Regions from separate parts of the Homo sapiens genome. Here region 1 is linked to region 2. Evidence: promoter capture Hi-C in human tissues and cell types (Jung and others, 2019). All regions are on one chromosome and are shown on one strand. The core of a region is centred on a gene start or on the middle of the fragment in contact, and the rest is flanking DNA. Distances in the headings are between cores, read along the strand shown.

Region 1 (7,161 bases), core at 2,657-5,156, 1.6 Mb before region 2:
AATGAATAACTGATGTATTAAAGATCATAGAATGAACTGATGTATTAAAGATCATAGAATGAACTGAAACTTTTTAAAAAGCTTAGTTTCTAAAAATCAGCATTTTAAACAAAAATTTAAGTTTAATCCATGTTGACATGGCTAATTTTTATTTCCTGTGGTTTGAAAAATTGGTTAACTATTGGTCCTGCGCTGTGGCTCACGCCTGTAATCCCAGGACTCTGGGAGTTATAAGGCAGGCGGATGGCCTGAGGTCACGAGTTTGAGACCAGCGTGGCCAACAGGTCGAAACCCCGTCTCTACTAAAAATACAAAAATTAGCTGGGCATGGTGGTGGGCATCTGTAATCCCAGCTACTAGGGAGACTGAGGCAGGAGAATCGCTTGAACCCGGGAGGCAGAGGTTGCAGTGAGCCAAGATCATGCCATTGCACTCCAGCCTGGGCGACAAGAGCAAAACTCCATCTCAAAAAAAAAAAAAAAAAAAAAAAAAAAAACAGGAAAAGAAAAAAGAAAAATTGGTAACTATTTTTCAAATTAACACTTGAGATCATCTGGATCAGTTTTAGGCCAAATTATAGTCTTGTCAAGTTCGTATTTGGTAATATTTAATTTTATTTCCAATATAATTCCATGATTTCAAGTAGTAGTGATAACAGAGGTTAAAATGGATGTAACTAGTGAGTATCACAAACCTGCTTCTGACATTTAAAGCTACTTTCTATGTCAGCTTAGCTTAAAATGAAAATAGAATTCCAATGTGCATAATATACAGAAAAGTGGGACTCTGCCTCTCATGACACAGGTTTTGCTGGTCAAGGCATCTTCAGTGCATAAGCTTATCACCAACTCAAAGGCTGTCTCTAAAGAAAAACATAGGCCGGGCGCGGTGGCTCACACCTGTAATCCCAGCACTTTGGGAGGCCGAGGCGGGCGGATCACGAGGTCAGGAGATCGAGACCATCCTGGCTAACACAATGAAACCCCGTCTCTACTAAAAATACAAAAAATTAGCCGGGCGTGGTAGCGGGCGCCTGTAGTCCCAGCTACTCGGGAGGCTGAGGCAGGAGAATGGCGTGAACCCGGGAGGCGGAGGTTGCAGTGAGCCGAGATCGCGCCACTGCACTCCAGCCTGGGCGACAGAGCGAGACTCCGTCTCAAAAAAAAAAAAAAGAAAAACATAATCACCCACAGTGTTACAGCTTGCTCTTGTTAACATAACAGCAAGATAAGTTCATGTCTTGGCAGTCGCATTAAATTTTAAAAATTTATTTGCAGAATCCAGAATTCTCTCTTTGTTCTTCTTCTTCTTTTTTGAGACGGAGCCTTGCTCTGTCACCCAGGCTGGACTGGAGTGCAGTGGCGCGATCTCAGCTCACTGCAGCCTCGACCTCTCAGGTTTAAGCAATTCTCCTGCCTCAGCCTCCCAAATAGCTGGTACTACAGACGTCCACCACCACTCCCAGCTAATTTTTGTATTTTTTGTGGAGACAGCATTTCACCATGTTGGCCAGGCTGATCACGAACTCCTGACCTCAGGTGATTCACCCGCCTCGACCTCCCAAAGTGCTGGAATTACAGGCATGAGCCACCGTACCCAGCCAGAATTCTCTTTCTTGTTTAAAAATATATATCCAAATAATTTTTATAACCTAAAAATAATACCCTAAGTATATAGCTGAGCACATACTCAACTTTTTTCTCTCTCTTTTGGTTTTTTGAAAGAGTATCACTCTGTTGTCCAGGCTGGAGTGCAGTGATACAATCACAGCGCACTATAGCCTTGACCTCCGGGGCTCAAGCAACCCTCCCACTTCAGCCACCCAAGTAGCTGGAACTACAGGCATGCCACACCCAACTAATTTTTGTATTTTTTGTAAAGATGGGGTTTCACCATGTTGCCCCAGCCTGGTATCGAACTCCTGGACACAAGCCTTGGCCTCCCAAAGTACTGGGATTACAGGCGTGAGCCACTGTAATGGCCATTCATCTTTTATCTGTCAGCAAAGTTCAGATTTCAGGCCAAGATTTTCCTTTCAGAAGATAACATGAGGCAAGAGAAAATTAATAGCAAACATTTTTCTCATATATATTCTAAGTATATGCTGCTGAGATCAGCCTTGACACATTTGTGAACTGAAGGCTCATCTACTTAATGAGAGGAAGTGCTGTGGCTGTAGAACGGATTTCTGACTTTGTTGAAAAATCACATAATAAACAATACTGAAATTACTGAACATCAAATCCAAATGCAGATTAGAACACTTCCTGACTTGATGAATAAAACAGTAAAAAACAGACACTTCTTGTCATTCTATGTATTCTTTCACAGTAACTAGGAAAATGAGAGAATATCTTCATACTTGATTGGCGAAGCACCTATACAAAGCCCTATTAAATAATACTGGTGAACCAAAAGTATTCTTTGTTCTTTATCCTCTATAGTATGTTCATGTGTTAAAAATTCTTCACTGCCTAGCTAGGCATCGTGGCACAAAACTGTAATTCCAGCTACTCAGGAGGCTGAGGCATTGCTTGAGGCCAGGAGTTCAAAGCTGTAGTGTGCAATTACTATGCTGGAGAACAGCCACTGCACCCCAGCCTGGGCAACACAGGGAGACCCCCATCTCTAAAAAACCAATTATTCACTGAGCCTATGAGGTAGGAATGTCTAGTCCCAGCATATAAAAGTCTGAAAGGGTGCAAGCTGTAAGATGGGATTCTATCAACCTGGGTCAATCCTGAAGGTATGTTGGGTGGGTTGCTTCATCTGATATACTACCAGTGCTGTCACTGGTTCTACAAGTAAGGTATATGCCCCAAAGGCAGCAAGTCATAAAGCAGTGCTCAGTCTGAGTAGGATAATCATAAACATCTGTAGCACTACTTCAACATGAGGAATGTGAAACCTAAAAATAAGCAGACTGTAAAATAGCAGAACAAGACTCTAATAACCTGGCTAAGCTGGATCTTTAACACAGTATTTTAGCAAAGTGTTGTTGGCTAAAGTAAAAATGAGAAAGATCTGGATGATAAAGAAAATGATGAATACAGAAGGCAAGGACCAACTTGCAGGAAAGACTTTTCTGATAAAGGAAACGCAGCTCACAATTCAGCTTTCTATAAGCAAGAGGCATTTTTTTCTACACCTGCCCTAGAGAAGGAGTAAAACAGTTTTGTTTCTGACCATAACCATGAAGCAGGTCATAGTTTTTCTGCAACTTTTTTTTTTTTTTTTTTTTTTTGAGACAGGGTCTCACTCTGTTGCCCAGGCTGAAGCACAGTGGCAAAATCTTGGCCTACTTGCAGCCTTGACTTCCCAGGCTCAGGTGATCCTCCCACCTCAGCCTCCCAAGAAACTGGGATTAGGAGGTGTTCCACCACACCCAGATTATTTTTTGTATTTTTTTATAGAGACAGGTTTTCGCTATGTTGCCCAGGCTGATCTCCAACTCCCGGGCTCAAGCAATGTTCCCACTTCAGCCTCCCAAAGCGCTGAGATGACAGGTGTGAGCCACCATGCCTGGCCTGCAATAAAATTAAGAGGATAAATACATATCCTTTGGATATATCATTTTAGTGCATGAGTTTTTTTCTCCTTCTCTAACATAAGACATACAACTCTAGAAATAAAGCTGGGAAACTCTAGAAATAAAACCATCCATGTCTGGGAATGCAATCTGACAGGTTAAGTTTAATATGCCTTGTAAGGGCAACATCCCCTCTTCTAAAGTACTTCATACTAACCATTCACTGACCACTCTTAGGCTTCAGTAGAGACAGAGGACTCCTTAACTCCAGGCTGCCAAGCTTTGGTAAAGACAGAAATTCACAACTTGCTTTCTTCTTTTTTTTGAGACAGGGTCTTGCTCTCTCACCCGGGCTGGAGTGCAATAGTGTGATCTCGACTCTCTGAAGCCTCAAACTCCCAAGCTCAAGCGATCCTCCCACGTCAGCCTCAAGAGTAGCTGGGACTATAGGCAAGCACCACCATGCCTGGCTAATTTCTTTTTTTTTTTTTTTTTGAGACGGAGTCTCGCTCTGTCGCCTATGCTGGAGTGCAATGGCGCGATCTTGGCTCACTGCAACCTCCGCCTCCCGGGTTCAAGTGACTCTCCTGCCTCAGCCTCCTGAGCAGCTGGGATTACAGGCACGGGCCACCAAGCCCACCTAATTTTTTTGTATTTTTAGTAGAGACAGGGTTTCACCATGTTGGTCAGGCTGGTCTTGAACTCCTGAACTGAAGCGATTCACCTGCCTCAGCCTCCTAAAGTGTTAGGATTATAAGTGTAAGTCACTGCATCGGGCCCACAACTTTCATATGTCCTCCTGTTGTTATAAGCTAATAACAGTAACAGTTATATGTATAGCCTAATACATTTTTTACCTTTTTGACTCACAGAAGTGTTTTGAGAATAGATACCTTTAAATAAGAGCAATGAGATTTCTCAAAGAAAAGCTTATACCCCCAGTAGCATTTATTAACCAGACTCATGTGATCTTGACACACCAACATTTTTTCTCCATAACTCAGTACTGCTAGAACAATGTATCTTGGGGACCAACTTTTCCCAATCTAGAAATATCACTTTCTGAATTTATCCCAATATTATGAAGTATCTTCAGCTCTTGAAGACAAAACTCTGGTTCCACAATGGGCTTTATGTTGTTTTCCACTTTCTATTATAATATATTATTATCTTGCTTCTATGCAAAACTTTCTATACTGCCATCTTTATTCTGAAACCTTGCTATATAATGCTGTGAGTATTACATAACACTATAAAATAGAACCTAGTAGGGTAGGTCCAGCTTAAAGTCTATTAAGGTCTATTTTAATAACTAAGGTATCAGATATACTCAATAACAGCACATGCTCTTGAGCTCCATGGTGTAGGGCATGAAGTTGACACCTTCACATGTGCTCCTTCCACTCTTCTATCAGATAATGCCAACTTAACCAAACTCTGAACCTTGTTTTAGGAGAACCAATGTGATTACAATTTTTTAAAAAGCTTTTTATTTTGAATTAATTATTACTCACAGGATGTAAAAAATTGCACAAAAAGTCTCACATATACTTCATTTTTCTCCGATGGTGACATCTTATATAACTACGTACAGCATCAAAACCACAGAAGTGGCATTGGTACATTATTGTTAACCACAAACATTGTTAAATTTTCACCATGTTTAAAAGCTGAATTCATTTCTGTAAATATATAGTTCTATGCATTATCTCATGTATACATTATTAATGTAATCACCTATTACCAAAATCAAGATACAGAATCATCTTGTGGATCTTGATGGAATCAAGATGATGGAATCATCATCATCACGTAAAACCCCCTTATGTTACCTTTTAATATTTGAATCCACTTCCCACCTACCCTGTTTCCTGACAAGTACTAATATGTTCTCCATCTCTAGTTTTGTCATTTTGAGAATGTTATATGAATTGAATCACACAGGTTGTGATCTTTTGAGACTGACTTTCTTCATCAAGCAAATTACTCTTGAAGTCCACCCAGACCTACTGGTGTATCAATAGCCCATTCCTTTTTTATTGCTGGGTGATCAGTATCTTTAAACTGTAGAAGAGTAAAATAATTATGAGCGTCAATAAAAGTTTATAAAGAGTCCACTTAATGTTTGGGGAATTTAATGCCTATTTGTGAATTAAACTGATATATATATTAAAAAAAAACTTCCCAGACATTCACTCAAGCAAGAGCACAGTATCAGACATAAATATCTGTTTTAAAATGACACAATTGGAAGAGAACAAAAATGAAATGACAGAACTCCATGAAGAAACTCATGTGACTTACCCCATCCAGGTGGCAATGGACCAAGAGGATCAAATTCTTTACTTTGTGATGTAGCAAATAAATCTTGATTCTAAAAAGAACCAAAAAGTGATGAAACTATTAACAACTTAACAACTTATCTGACAGCAAGCTTATGAGTTCTGATTTCCCTTCCCTGGCAATGTATAACACAGAGAGTTTGTATCTTAAAGAAGTGTCACATGGTTATGGATAAATGCCAATATACTTTGGTTTGGTTTAAAAAAAACCGGTGCAAACATTACCTAACATTTAAAATTATTTAAAATTAAAATACTACACATATATGTAATCCTCATCCCCAAAATGACCATTTTTCCTTTGTGCTACAAATTTTACATCAATAATATAAAAATTAGAAAAATATATAACCCCCCCAAAAGTCATTTACAATACCAGTACCCAGAATCATCATATGACTATGAAAAATATTATATGTGTAACTCAAAAACAGAAGATCAAATACAGAACATGTGACATACAAAGAATTATGAGAAGAGAGTTGGGGGAACAGGAAGAGTGGGCTGCCAGATGAGTGGAAGGAAAGGTTTCCAGCTGGAAAGTGTTAATGAGCCTAGAACTGTATGGAAGACTTCTTAAAAGTTCTGTTTCCAATGATCACATTGGTGGAGAGAAAGATTTGGCTAGATAAGATGAAAGCAAAGTAAGAGTCAACCTTTGGAAAAAGAAAACAAAAGTCACACCGACTCTGTGTAGAGATATTAAGTCTGTTTTGATTTAAATGTATAATTAAGTAGAGATAATTACATGGTCACCCAGTAAGATTTGGTTAAACCCTTTCTTCTTCAGTAAGATAAACAAGAGTCTAACTGCATTAAAAATAATTTCACTATGGGGAAGAAAAAAAAAACAAGTAAAACAGGGCAATGAATCCCACATTCCCACATACCCAGCACCAGGATTCAACACTTATCAAGACTTTGCCAAGTTTCTTTATCTCTTTTCTCCTGTTCTTTGTTGAAGCGAAAATCAAACATTATTTCACCTCTACTACATATTTTAGTATGTCTCTCTAAAATTTGTGGACATTTTCTTTTCTTTTTTTTTTTGAGATGGAGTCTCACTCTGTCGCCCAGGCTGGAGTACAGTGGCACGATCTCGGCTCACTGTAGCCTCCGGCTCCCAGGTTCAAGTGATTCTCCTGCCTCAGCCTCCTGAGTAGCTGGGATCACAGGCACGCGCCACCACGCCCAGCTAACTTTTTGTATTTTTAGTAGAGACCGGGTTTCACCATGTTGGTCAGGCTGGCCTCAAACTCCTGACCTTGTTCGTGATCCACCCGCCTCGGC
Region 2 (7,492 bases), core at 4,128-6,627:
AAGAGGCACTAAATAAAGGGATGAGTAAGTGCTTTTATGATGGGAGGCAGATGCATAAACGAGAATGCTTTCTGTTTAGAAAACATCAGCCCAAAGTTACCCATAAAGATATCAAAATGTTACAATTTTCTTCAGATAATGGTTTTTTGTTTGTTTGTTTCTTTCTTTTTTTTTTTTTTTTGAGACAGTCTTGCTCTGGTGCCCAGACTGGAGTGCAATGGCACGATCTCAACTCACTGCAACCTCCGCCTCCCAGGTTCAAGTGATTTTCCTGCCTCAGCTTCTCAAGTACCTGGGATTACAGGCGCATGCCACCATGCCTGGCTAATTTTTGTATTTTTAGTAGAGACAGGATTTCAGCATGTTAGCCAGGCTGGTCTAGAACTCCTGACCTCAGGTGATCCACCCACCTAGGCCTCCCAAAGTGCTGGGATTACAGGCGTGAGCCACCACGCCTGGCCCGATGGGTTTTTATTAATTCCTATTTATAGTTTTCACTACTTCCCAAATTTTCCTTAAAGACTATACCTAGGCCAGGCACACTGGCACATGCCTGTAATACCAGCACTTTGGGAGGCTGACGTGGGAGGAGCGCCTGAGTCCAAGAGGTTGAGGCAGTGAGATCCTATTTCCAAAAAAAAAAAAAAAACTATAAATTCTTTCATAATTGAAAAAGTAAATCAGCTTTTCAATACCTAGATATTAAAAAGGCAGTATCAAATGACCTTACAGGTGAAGAATCCTTGTAGTTAATTCTCTGCAGAGCTACCTGGCAATGGTAGGGCATCTGTGGGCCTAAGTGCCAGATACTTCACAGACACTTGTTGTTTAACCCTGACAGCCCTCTGCAAGGTTCACTTCATGTCCCTCATTTTACAGGTGAGGACAAGAGAGGCCCTGGGGTTGGCAGGCAAGCCTGCCCAGCCCCAGCCTCCACATTCTCTTCCCTCCCTTTTCTGCTAGGCTTTCAAATTCAAAACAATAAACACACAGCAATGAGTCTAATTTTCAAATGCTAGTAAATGTGGGCGTTATTGTCTATGAGCACCAGTGTAGTCAACCGTCACTCATTCTACAAATGTTTACTAGCTCTACCGCGTGCTAGGCACTGTTCTAGGGACCAGGATACAGAAAAGCAAGAGACAAGGTGCCTGTCCACAGGGAGTTCACATTCTAGTGGTGCAAAGTCTGACACTGACCAAATACACCAACAAACATCATTTCATACCAACCACTTATGCAACGGGGTTTACGGAATGTGGTCAGAGGAAGCCTCTCTGAGATGAACAGTTGAGCTTAAGGATCAGAGAAAGAAGCAACCACATGAAGCTCTAGAGATAGGGCTCTCCAGCCCAGTGAGCAAGGAGAGCAGAGCCTGAGGTGGGAACAGAAGGAGTTAGGATTTTATTCTATTAAGAAATCCACTGTTGGGTTTGTTTTTTGAGGCAGGGTGTCACTCTGTCACCCAGGCTGGAGTGCAATGCCACAATCACGGCTCACTGCAGCCCTGACTTCCCAGGCTCAAGCCATCCTCTTGACTCATCTTCCCAAGTAGCTGGGACTACAGATGGTCACCACCAAGCCCAGCTAATTTTTTAATTTTTTGTAGAGACCAGGTCTCATTTTGCGGCCCAGCCTCAAACAATCCTCCGCCTCAGCCTCCCAAGGTGCTGGGATTACAGGCATGAGCCACCACACCCAGGCACTTTCAGGTTTTAAGTGCGGTAGAATCTTGCTCTCATTACAGTTTGAAAAAGATCACATTGACTACTAGTAGAGAACAGACAGTAGGGAGGGAAGACTCAAGATAAAGGCAGGCTAATCCAGATCTAAATCAAATCCCTGAGCAGTCACCATGAGGACACACTATGAAATACCAGAGACTTCATAGTGACCTAGACACTTAACAATTTTCTTCATTTCATAAGACAGCAACATTACCAGTGGGGAGGGGCAGGGGAAAGATGCAGAGCAATCTGGAACAATCCTGAGATCCCAGCCCCTTGCTCTCTTACGGTACTTCGTTCCCTCCACCTAGTGACTAGAGTTGGTCTTTCCACATCAGTCTCCTGCACTAAGCTGCTGCAAGCCTCCTGACTCACCAAGCCACAGAATGTGACAGCCAGAAGAGGCAAATCCACCCATCCAGTCCCCTTTTTATGGGGTGACTGAGGTCTGTAGAGGTCAATAACTTGCCAGGTCTGCGTGCCCTCACATCTCCCAGGCACCTCATAGTATCTTGCACATAGCAAGCACTCACTACTTATTTTCAGGTTGGCAGAACAGCGTCAAAGAGAGAAAAATGTGTCTATATAAACTTGTCAGAAAGCAAATCATCAACACTGTTACACTCCCCAAATCAGCTGATAAAACCATGTTATGCAAGACACCAACACAATTTAGTTACTGACTCCACTGGGAAATTAATCCCTATGTTTCCAGAGCAATTCATTCAAACCTTTATGATAGGAAGTCCCACAATGAATTGTCATTATCTCGTTATTTCTGAACCATTCTCGAGCCAGATTTGGGCCAGGAAGCAATCCACTCGATGCAAACAGCTGAGGATTTCAAGCCAGGAGGACATGGGTTTGAATGTGAGGCAGTCACTCATTAGTTGTGTGATCTTAGGCAAGTTACTTAAACTCAATGTACCTCAGTTCCCTTACAAGTTAAAGCCACCTATCTGAAAAGGGTCATAGAAGGGTTTAAATTAGATAAGGTACATAAAATATTTGGCATGGCATCAAATTTAAGAGGTATTTAACAAACAAGATGTAGGGTAGGGACCTTGTCTCACTCATCCTCCTATCTCCAATGCCAAAAACAGTGCGCCTGAGACCTGCCAGCACCATCTTGCACGGAGATGCACTGCAACAGTCTTCAAATTTGTCTGTGTCAATCTGTTCTTACACAGCAAACCAGAGAGAATTTCCTGAATCACAAATCACAGCAAGTGCCTCCCTTGTTTAAAATCCTTGAATGAACAAAATACTGTGCGCAAAATCAGGTACCAGAGACATTCAAACAAAAAAGACATGGTCCCAGCTGAGCAATTGTAATCTATTATGGCGACATTCCTATATATACTGTATCGTGTGCATCATGCTGCTATAAAATCTAAGCAGCTGGTAAAGCCATGTGTGTCTCCTGACCACACCCCAGCTCAAAAAACATTAATGGCCTTTCATCATCATATAATTTAAAACTTTCATTAGCAGTACATTAATACCTGGTCCCACGTGCTCCACAAACGCTGCAGCCACTAAATACATGGATTAGGCACCCTGTGGATGTACAATGAACATCCACCGACTCAATCAATTAATTGGCTCCTCCTGACAATCAAAACAGAGCTCCAGCTCACCCTTCCTTCACAATTCCATCATTGGCAGCCATGGAAGACCCATGACTACCACACAAATCTCACCCTTACAAGGCTTCCTGATCCAGGTTTCCACCACCACCATGAAAAAGCTCCCTCAAACCTACCCAGGAATCTCTCTTCCTTCAGCAGCTCTCCTAGCAAGATCCCAAACCTATACAAATTCAACGCTGGCTCTAAAGCACTCTATTACTTTCAAGGCACCACAATAAGCCCTATGTAAAGTGGGGGAAGGAGGTGCCACCAGAAAGGACCTATGTGACCGTGGGCAAGTCACTTAATCTTCCTGCATCACAAATGGCTCATCCTGTAAAATGGGTAAAACAGTATCTCTGCACAAAGTGGTGGTAAGGATTAAACAAAAATCTACATGAAAACACTTAAGCAAAAGGCACATCACGTCCTAAGCTTCCCTCTGTGCCAAAAACTGTGCTAGGCACTTTGACGCACCACCACAAAGGGCACATCTGGATGTGTAGCTCTGGACCTCAGGGAGAAAGTGTAATAAAGAGGTTAAGAGCCTAGACACTGAAGTCCCAGGTGGGGGTTCAGCCACTTGCTGGGCTGCATAAGACACTCCGCCTCTCAGAGTCTCAGACCCCTTATTTGTAAAATGAAAGTAATCTCTCTTGCCAGGCGCGGTGGCTCACACCTGTAATCCCAACACTTTGGAGGCCGAGGCGGACAGATCACTTGAGGTCAGGAGTTCGACAACAGCCTGGCCAACATGGCGAAACCTCGTCTCTACTAAAAAATACAACAATTAGCCGGGCTTGGTGGCGCGCGCCTGTAATCCCGACTACTCGGGAGGCTGAGGCACGAGAATCGCTTGAACCCGGGAGGCGGAGGTTGCAGTGAGCGATGGTGCCACTGCACGCCTGGGCAACAGAATAAAACTCTGTCTCAAAAAAAAAAAAAAAAGGAAGAAGAGAATCTCTCTTAAAGACAGTGTTAGTATTAAAAGACACAAAGCCACATGGAGCACTTAACAGTGCTTGACACAAAACAAGTGCCCAACTAACAAAGAGCTGCTATTATCATTACTACTGTTAGAGACATGCCATCGGAGAAGCGGATGCCCGGCCTAGCATAACCTCCCTCAATGGGCCCCAGGATCCTCATCCCCAAAATGGGGCAGAGGTCAAGCTCTGCCCTGCAGCATCCGAGGGCAACTGTGAAGTAGGGACTGAACTAGCACTGTTGATACCATCCCGTTATACTGTCCTCCTGCTCATCATAATGTGGATTCCTGGAGAGCAAATCTTTGTTCCCGGGAAAACAGCCAGGGTTTAGCACGGTGCCCAACACCTAGTGGGCATTCAATAAACACACACTGAAGAAAGGAGGGAGTCCAAGAGCTGGCTTACTTTCTGCCATACATCGCGCTAAGAGTTTAATGTGGGTAGTATTACTGTCCCCGTTTTACAGATGAGGAAGCTGAGATCCACAGCGGTTAAAGCACCTGTCCAAGGTCACACCGCACGGAACCCAACCCAGGTCTGACTCCACCACCCGATCTCTCGGCCCTCAGGCAACACGGCCTCCCACAATGTGCGTCCCCAGAGCTCCCAGGACGGCCCACCTCGCCCACACCCTCCCAGGGCCCAACCACCCTGGGACCTCCAGTCGCTGCAGCGCAGGGACCACACCTCAGCGGCGGCCCAGAAACCCCCACCCCGCGTAGCAGCAGCCCACTTCCGGCCCGAGACCCCGCCCCCTGAGCAGAGCGCAGCGCGCGCCCCCAGGCCCAGCCCGCGCGCGCCGGGTGACGGCCCCGCCCTTCCCCCACCCGGCTCGAACAGCACCGCCGTGTGGAACGGCCCTGGCGCTGCCCGTAGGGCCTGCCCGCGCACGCCCGGCCTTGGCCCACGCGGCCGCCCCCCCAGCCGCACCCCCCGGGCCCGCTAGCCGGCTCACCGGCTCTCGGCAGAACCGCGTCCACTGCCCGCAACCGGCTCCGGTTCCGTCTTCGTCTCGTTCAAACCGCCAGACCCCGCCCGCCCGCCCGCGCGATGACCTCACACGCACCCCCTCGTTACGCGCCGACGTAAAGGCTCGCCATCCTCCGCCGGCTCCTTTTATAGAGAGGGTCTCAGCCGCGCGCCGGGGGCGGAGCTCGGCCCCTGATCCACAGAACGGTAGCCGAGGGGCGGGGCCCCGACCGCCGGGGCGACTGCGGCACGTGGTCGGTCGCAGCCAATGAGGTCCCGCCTCGGCCCGGTGTGACTCAGTTACAAAATCCCTATGGCAGTAACCAAAAAGAAAATTGCTTTTACAATGAATTTTTTTTTTTTTTTGCTTAGAGATGTATGGAGGTCTCGCTGTGTTGCCCAGGGTGGTCTCGAACTCTTGGCCTCAAGCGATCCTCCCGCCTTAGCCTCCCAAAGCGCTGGGATAACAGGCGTGAGCCACCGCTCCCAGGCTTACAATTAATTTCTGTAAGAATGGGTTATTGAATCATAAAGATACCTAATAGACACTTTGGGGAAACGCTTAGAAGTCAACTTTCTGGGCCGGGTGCAGTGGCTCACGCCTTTAATCCCAGCACTTTGGGAGGCCCAGGTGGGAGGATCACCTGAGGTCAGGAGTTTGAGACCAGCCTGGCCAACATAGTGAAACCCCATCTCTACTAAAAATACAAAAATTAGCCTGGCGTGGTGGTGGGCGCCTGTAATTCCAGCTACTTGGGAAGCTGAGGCAGGAGAATCACTTGAACCCAGGAGACGGAGGTGGCAGTGAGGCGAGACTGCACCACTGCACTCCAGTCTGGGCGACAGAGCAAGACTCTGTCTCAAAAAAAAAAAAAAAAAGTCACGTTCTGTGACGCCCCCGCCCCCCCATCTGCAATATCATGCGGCATATTTTCTTCTTAGTACCATAAGAAGGCATCTTGTGCCTTTACTGTCTGTCTCCTGTAAAGTCCACAGGAGCAAGGACCTCCTGAGTCCTGTTCCGGGTTGTTTCCCAATGGCTGTACATACATTCTCTCTTGCCCACTCCCTCTTTTTTTTTTTTTTTTTTTTAAGAGATGGGGTCTTGCCATGTTGCCCAGGCTGGGCTGGTCTCCTGGGCTCGAGAGATCCACCCGCATCGGCCTCCCAAAGTGCTGGGATTACAGGCGTGAGCCACCACACCTGGCCCTTACATTCTCAAGAGAGCCTTGGCTGAAGGAGGAACTGGGCTGGGCGTGGTGGCTCACACCTGTAATCCCAACACTTTGGGAGGCCAAGGCGGATGAATTACCTGAGGTCAGGAGTTGGAAACCAGCCTGTCCAACATGGCGAAACCCCATCTCTACTAAAAATGCAAAACTTAGCCGGGCATGGTGGTGGGCGCCTGTAATCCCAGCTACTTGGGAGGCTGAGGCAGGAGAATCACTTGAACCTGGGAGGCAGAGGTTGCAGTCAGACTTCGTCTAAAAAAGAAAAAAAGAGGAACTGCACCACTTTACAGCAGAAAGAAACTGAGGGACAAAGAGGCCAATTGACTCACTCAGTGTCAGAGGTAGATCCAGATTTCAAGCTGACTTTTTTTGTCTGGGTATCATTTATTCAAGTATTCAACAAATATTTTCCCTGACCAATCAGGCCCTGGTGAAAAAAAGACACAATCTGATCATGGTGGTACGTGCCTTTAGTTCCAGCTACTGGGAAGGCTGGGGCAGGAGGATCGCTTGAGCCCAGGAGTTCGAGGCTGCAGTGAGCAAAGATCACGCCACTGCACTCCAGGCCTGGGAAACAGAGTGAAACTCCATCTCTAAGAGATAAAAACGAAAACTAGACACAGCTTCTGACCTCTTAAAGTTTCCAGACTGGCAGGGGAGGCAAAGGGGACACAACTAATGACACAAATCCTTGTTAAATTACAAATCAGGCTCAATGCTAGGCAGGGACATTATGTGGTGGGCTGATGGTACTTCCACTGTGTGGAGCAGGGGCCTAGAGGTCCCTCTAGGCCAAATCTCACCCAGTTAGTTGCTGAAACCCAGTAAGACGTTCAGGGAAGAATGGGTGGGGAAGCTGGGGCAGGAGCTGTTTATCAGCAGGTCTAGAGGCATTTCAATACTTCGGTCTCGAGTACTGCTCCAAGAGCACACCACAAGAGACA

What was found. Contacts are between HindIII fragments. The study calls those that stand out against the background at their distance.
Region 1: a contact is called between a fragment that was not itself captured here and the fragment with the promoter of MAPRE1 in region 2, in 1 of the 25 tissues and cell types used here (dorsolateral prefrontal cortex).

Annotation. Positions count from the first base shown.
Region 1 is chr20:34,448,153-34,455,313 of GRCh38, reverse strand. ITCH (itchy E3 ubiquitin protein ligase) reads right to left here. Exons shown (of 25, transcript NM_031483.7): 12 at 5,834-5,903. Among named protein-coding and RNA genes, the nearest start is that of MIR644A, 15 kb to the left of the region's middle. The HindIII fragment of the contact is 3,166 bases long and covers 2,324-5,489 here.
Region 2 is chr20:32,817,839-32,825,330 of GRCh38, reverse strand. MAPRE1 (microtubule associated protein RP/EB family member 1) reads right to left here and starts at 5,377. Exons shown (of 7, transcript NM_012325.3): 1 at 5,303-5,377. RefSeq lists enhancers at 3,659-4,328, 4,329-4,998 and a silencer at 5,071-5,660. The HindIII fragment of the contact is 10,810 bases long and covers 1-7,492 here.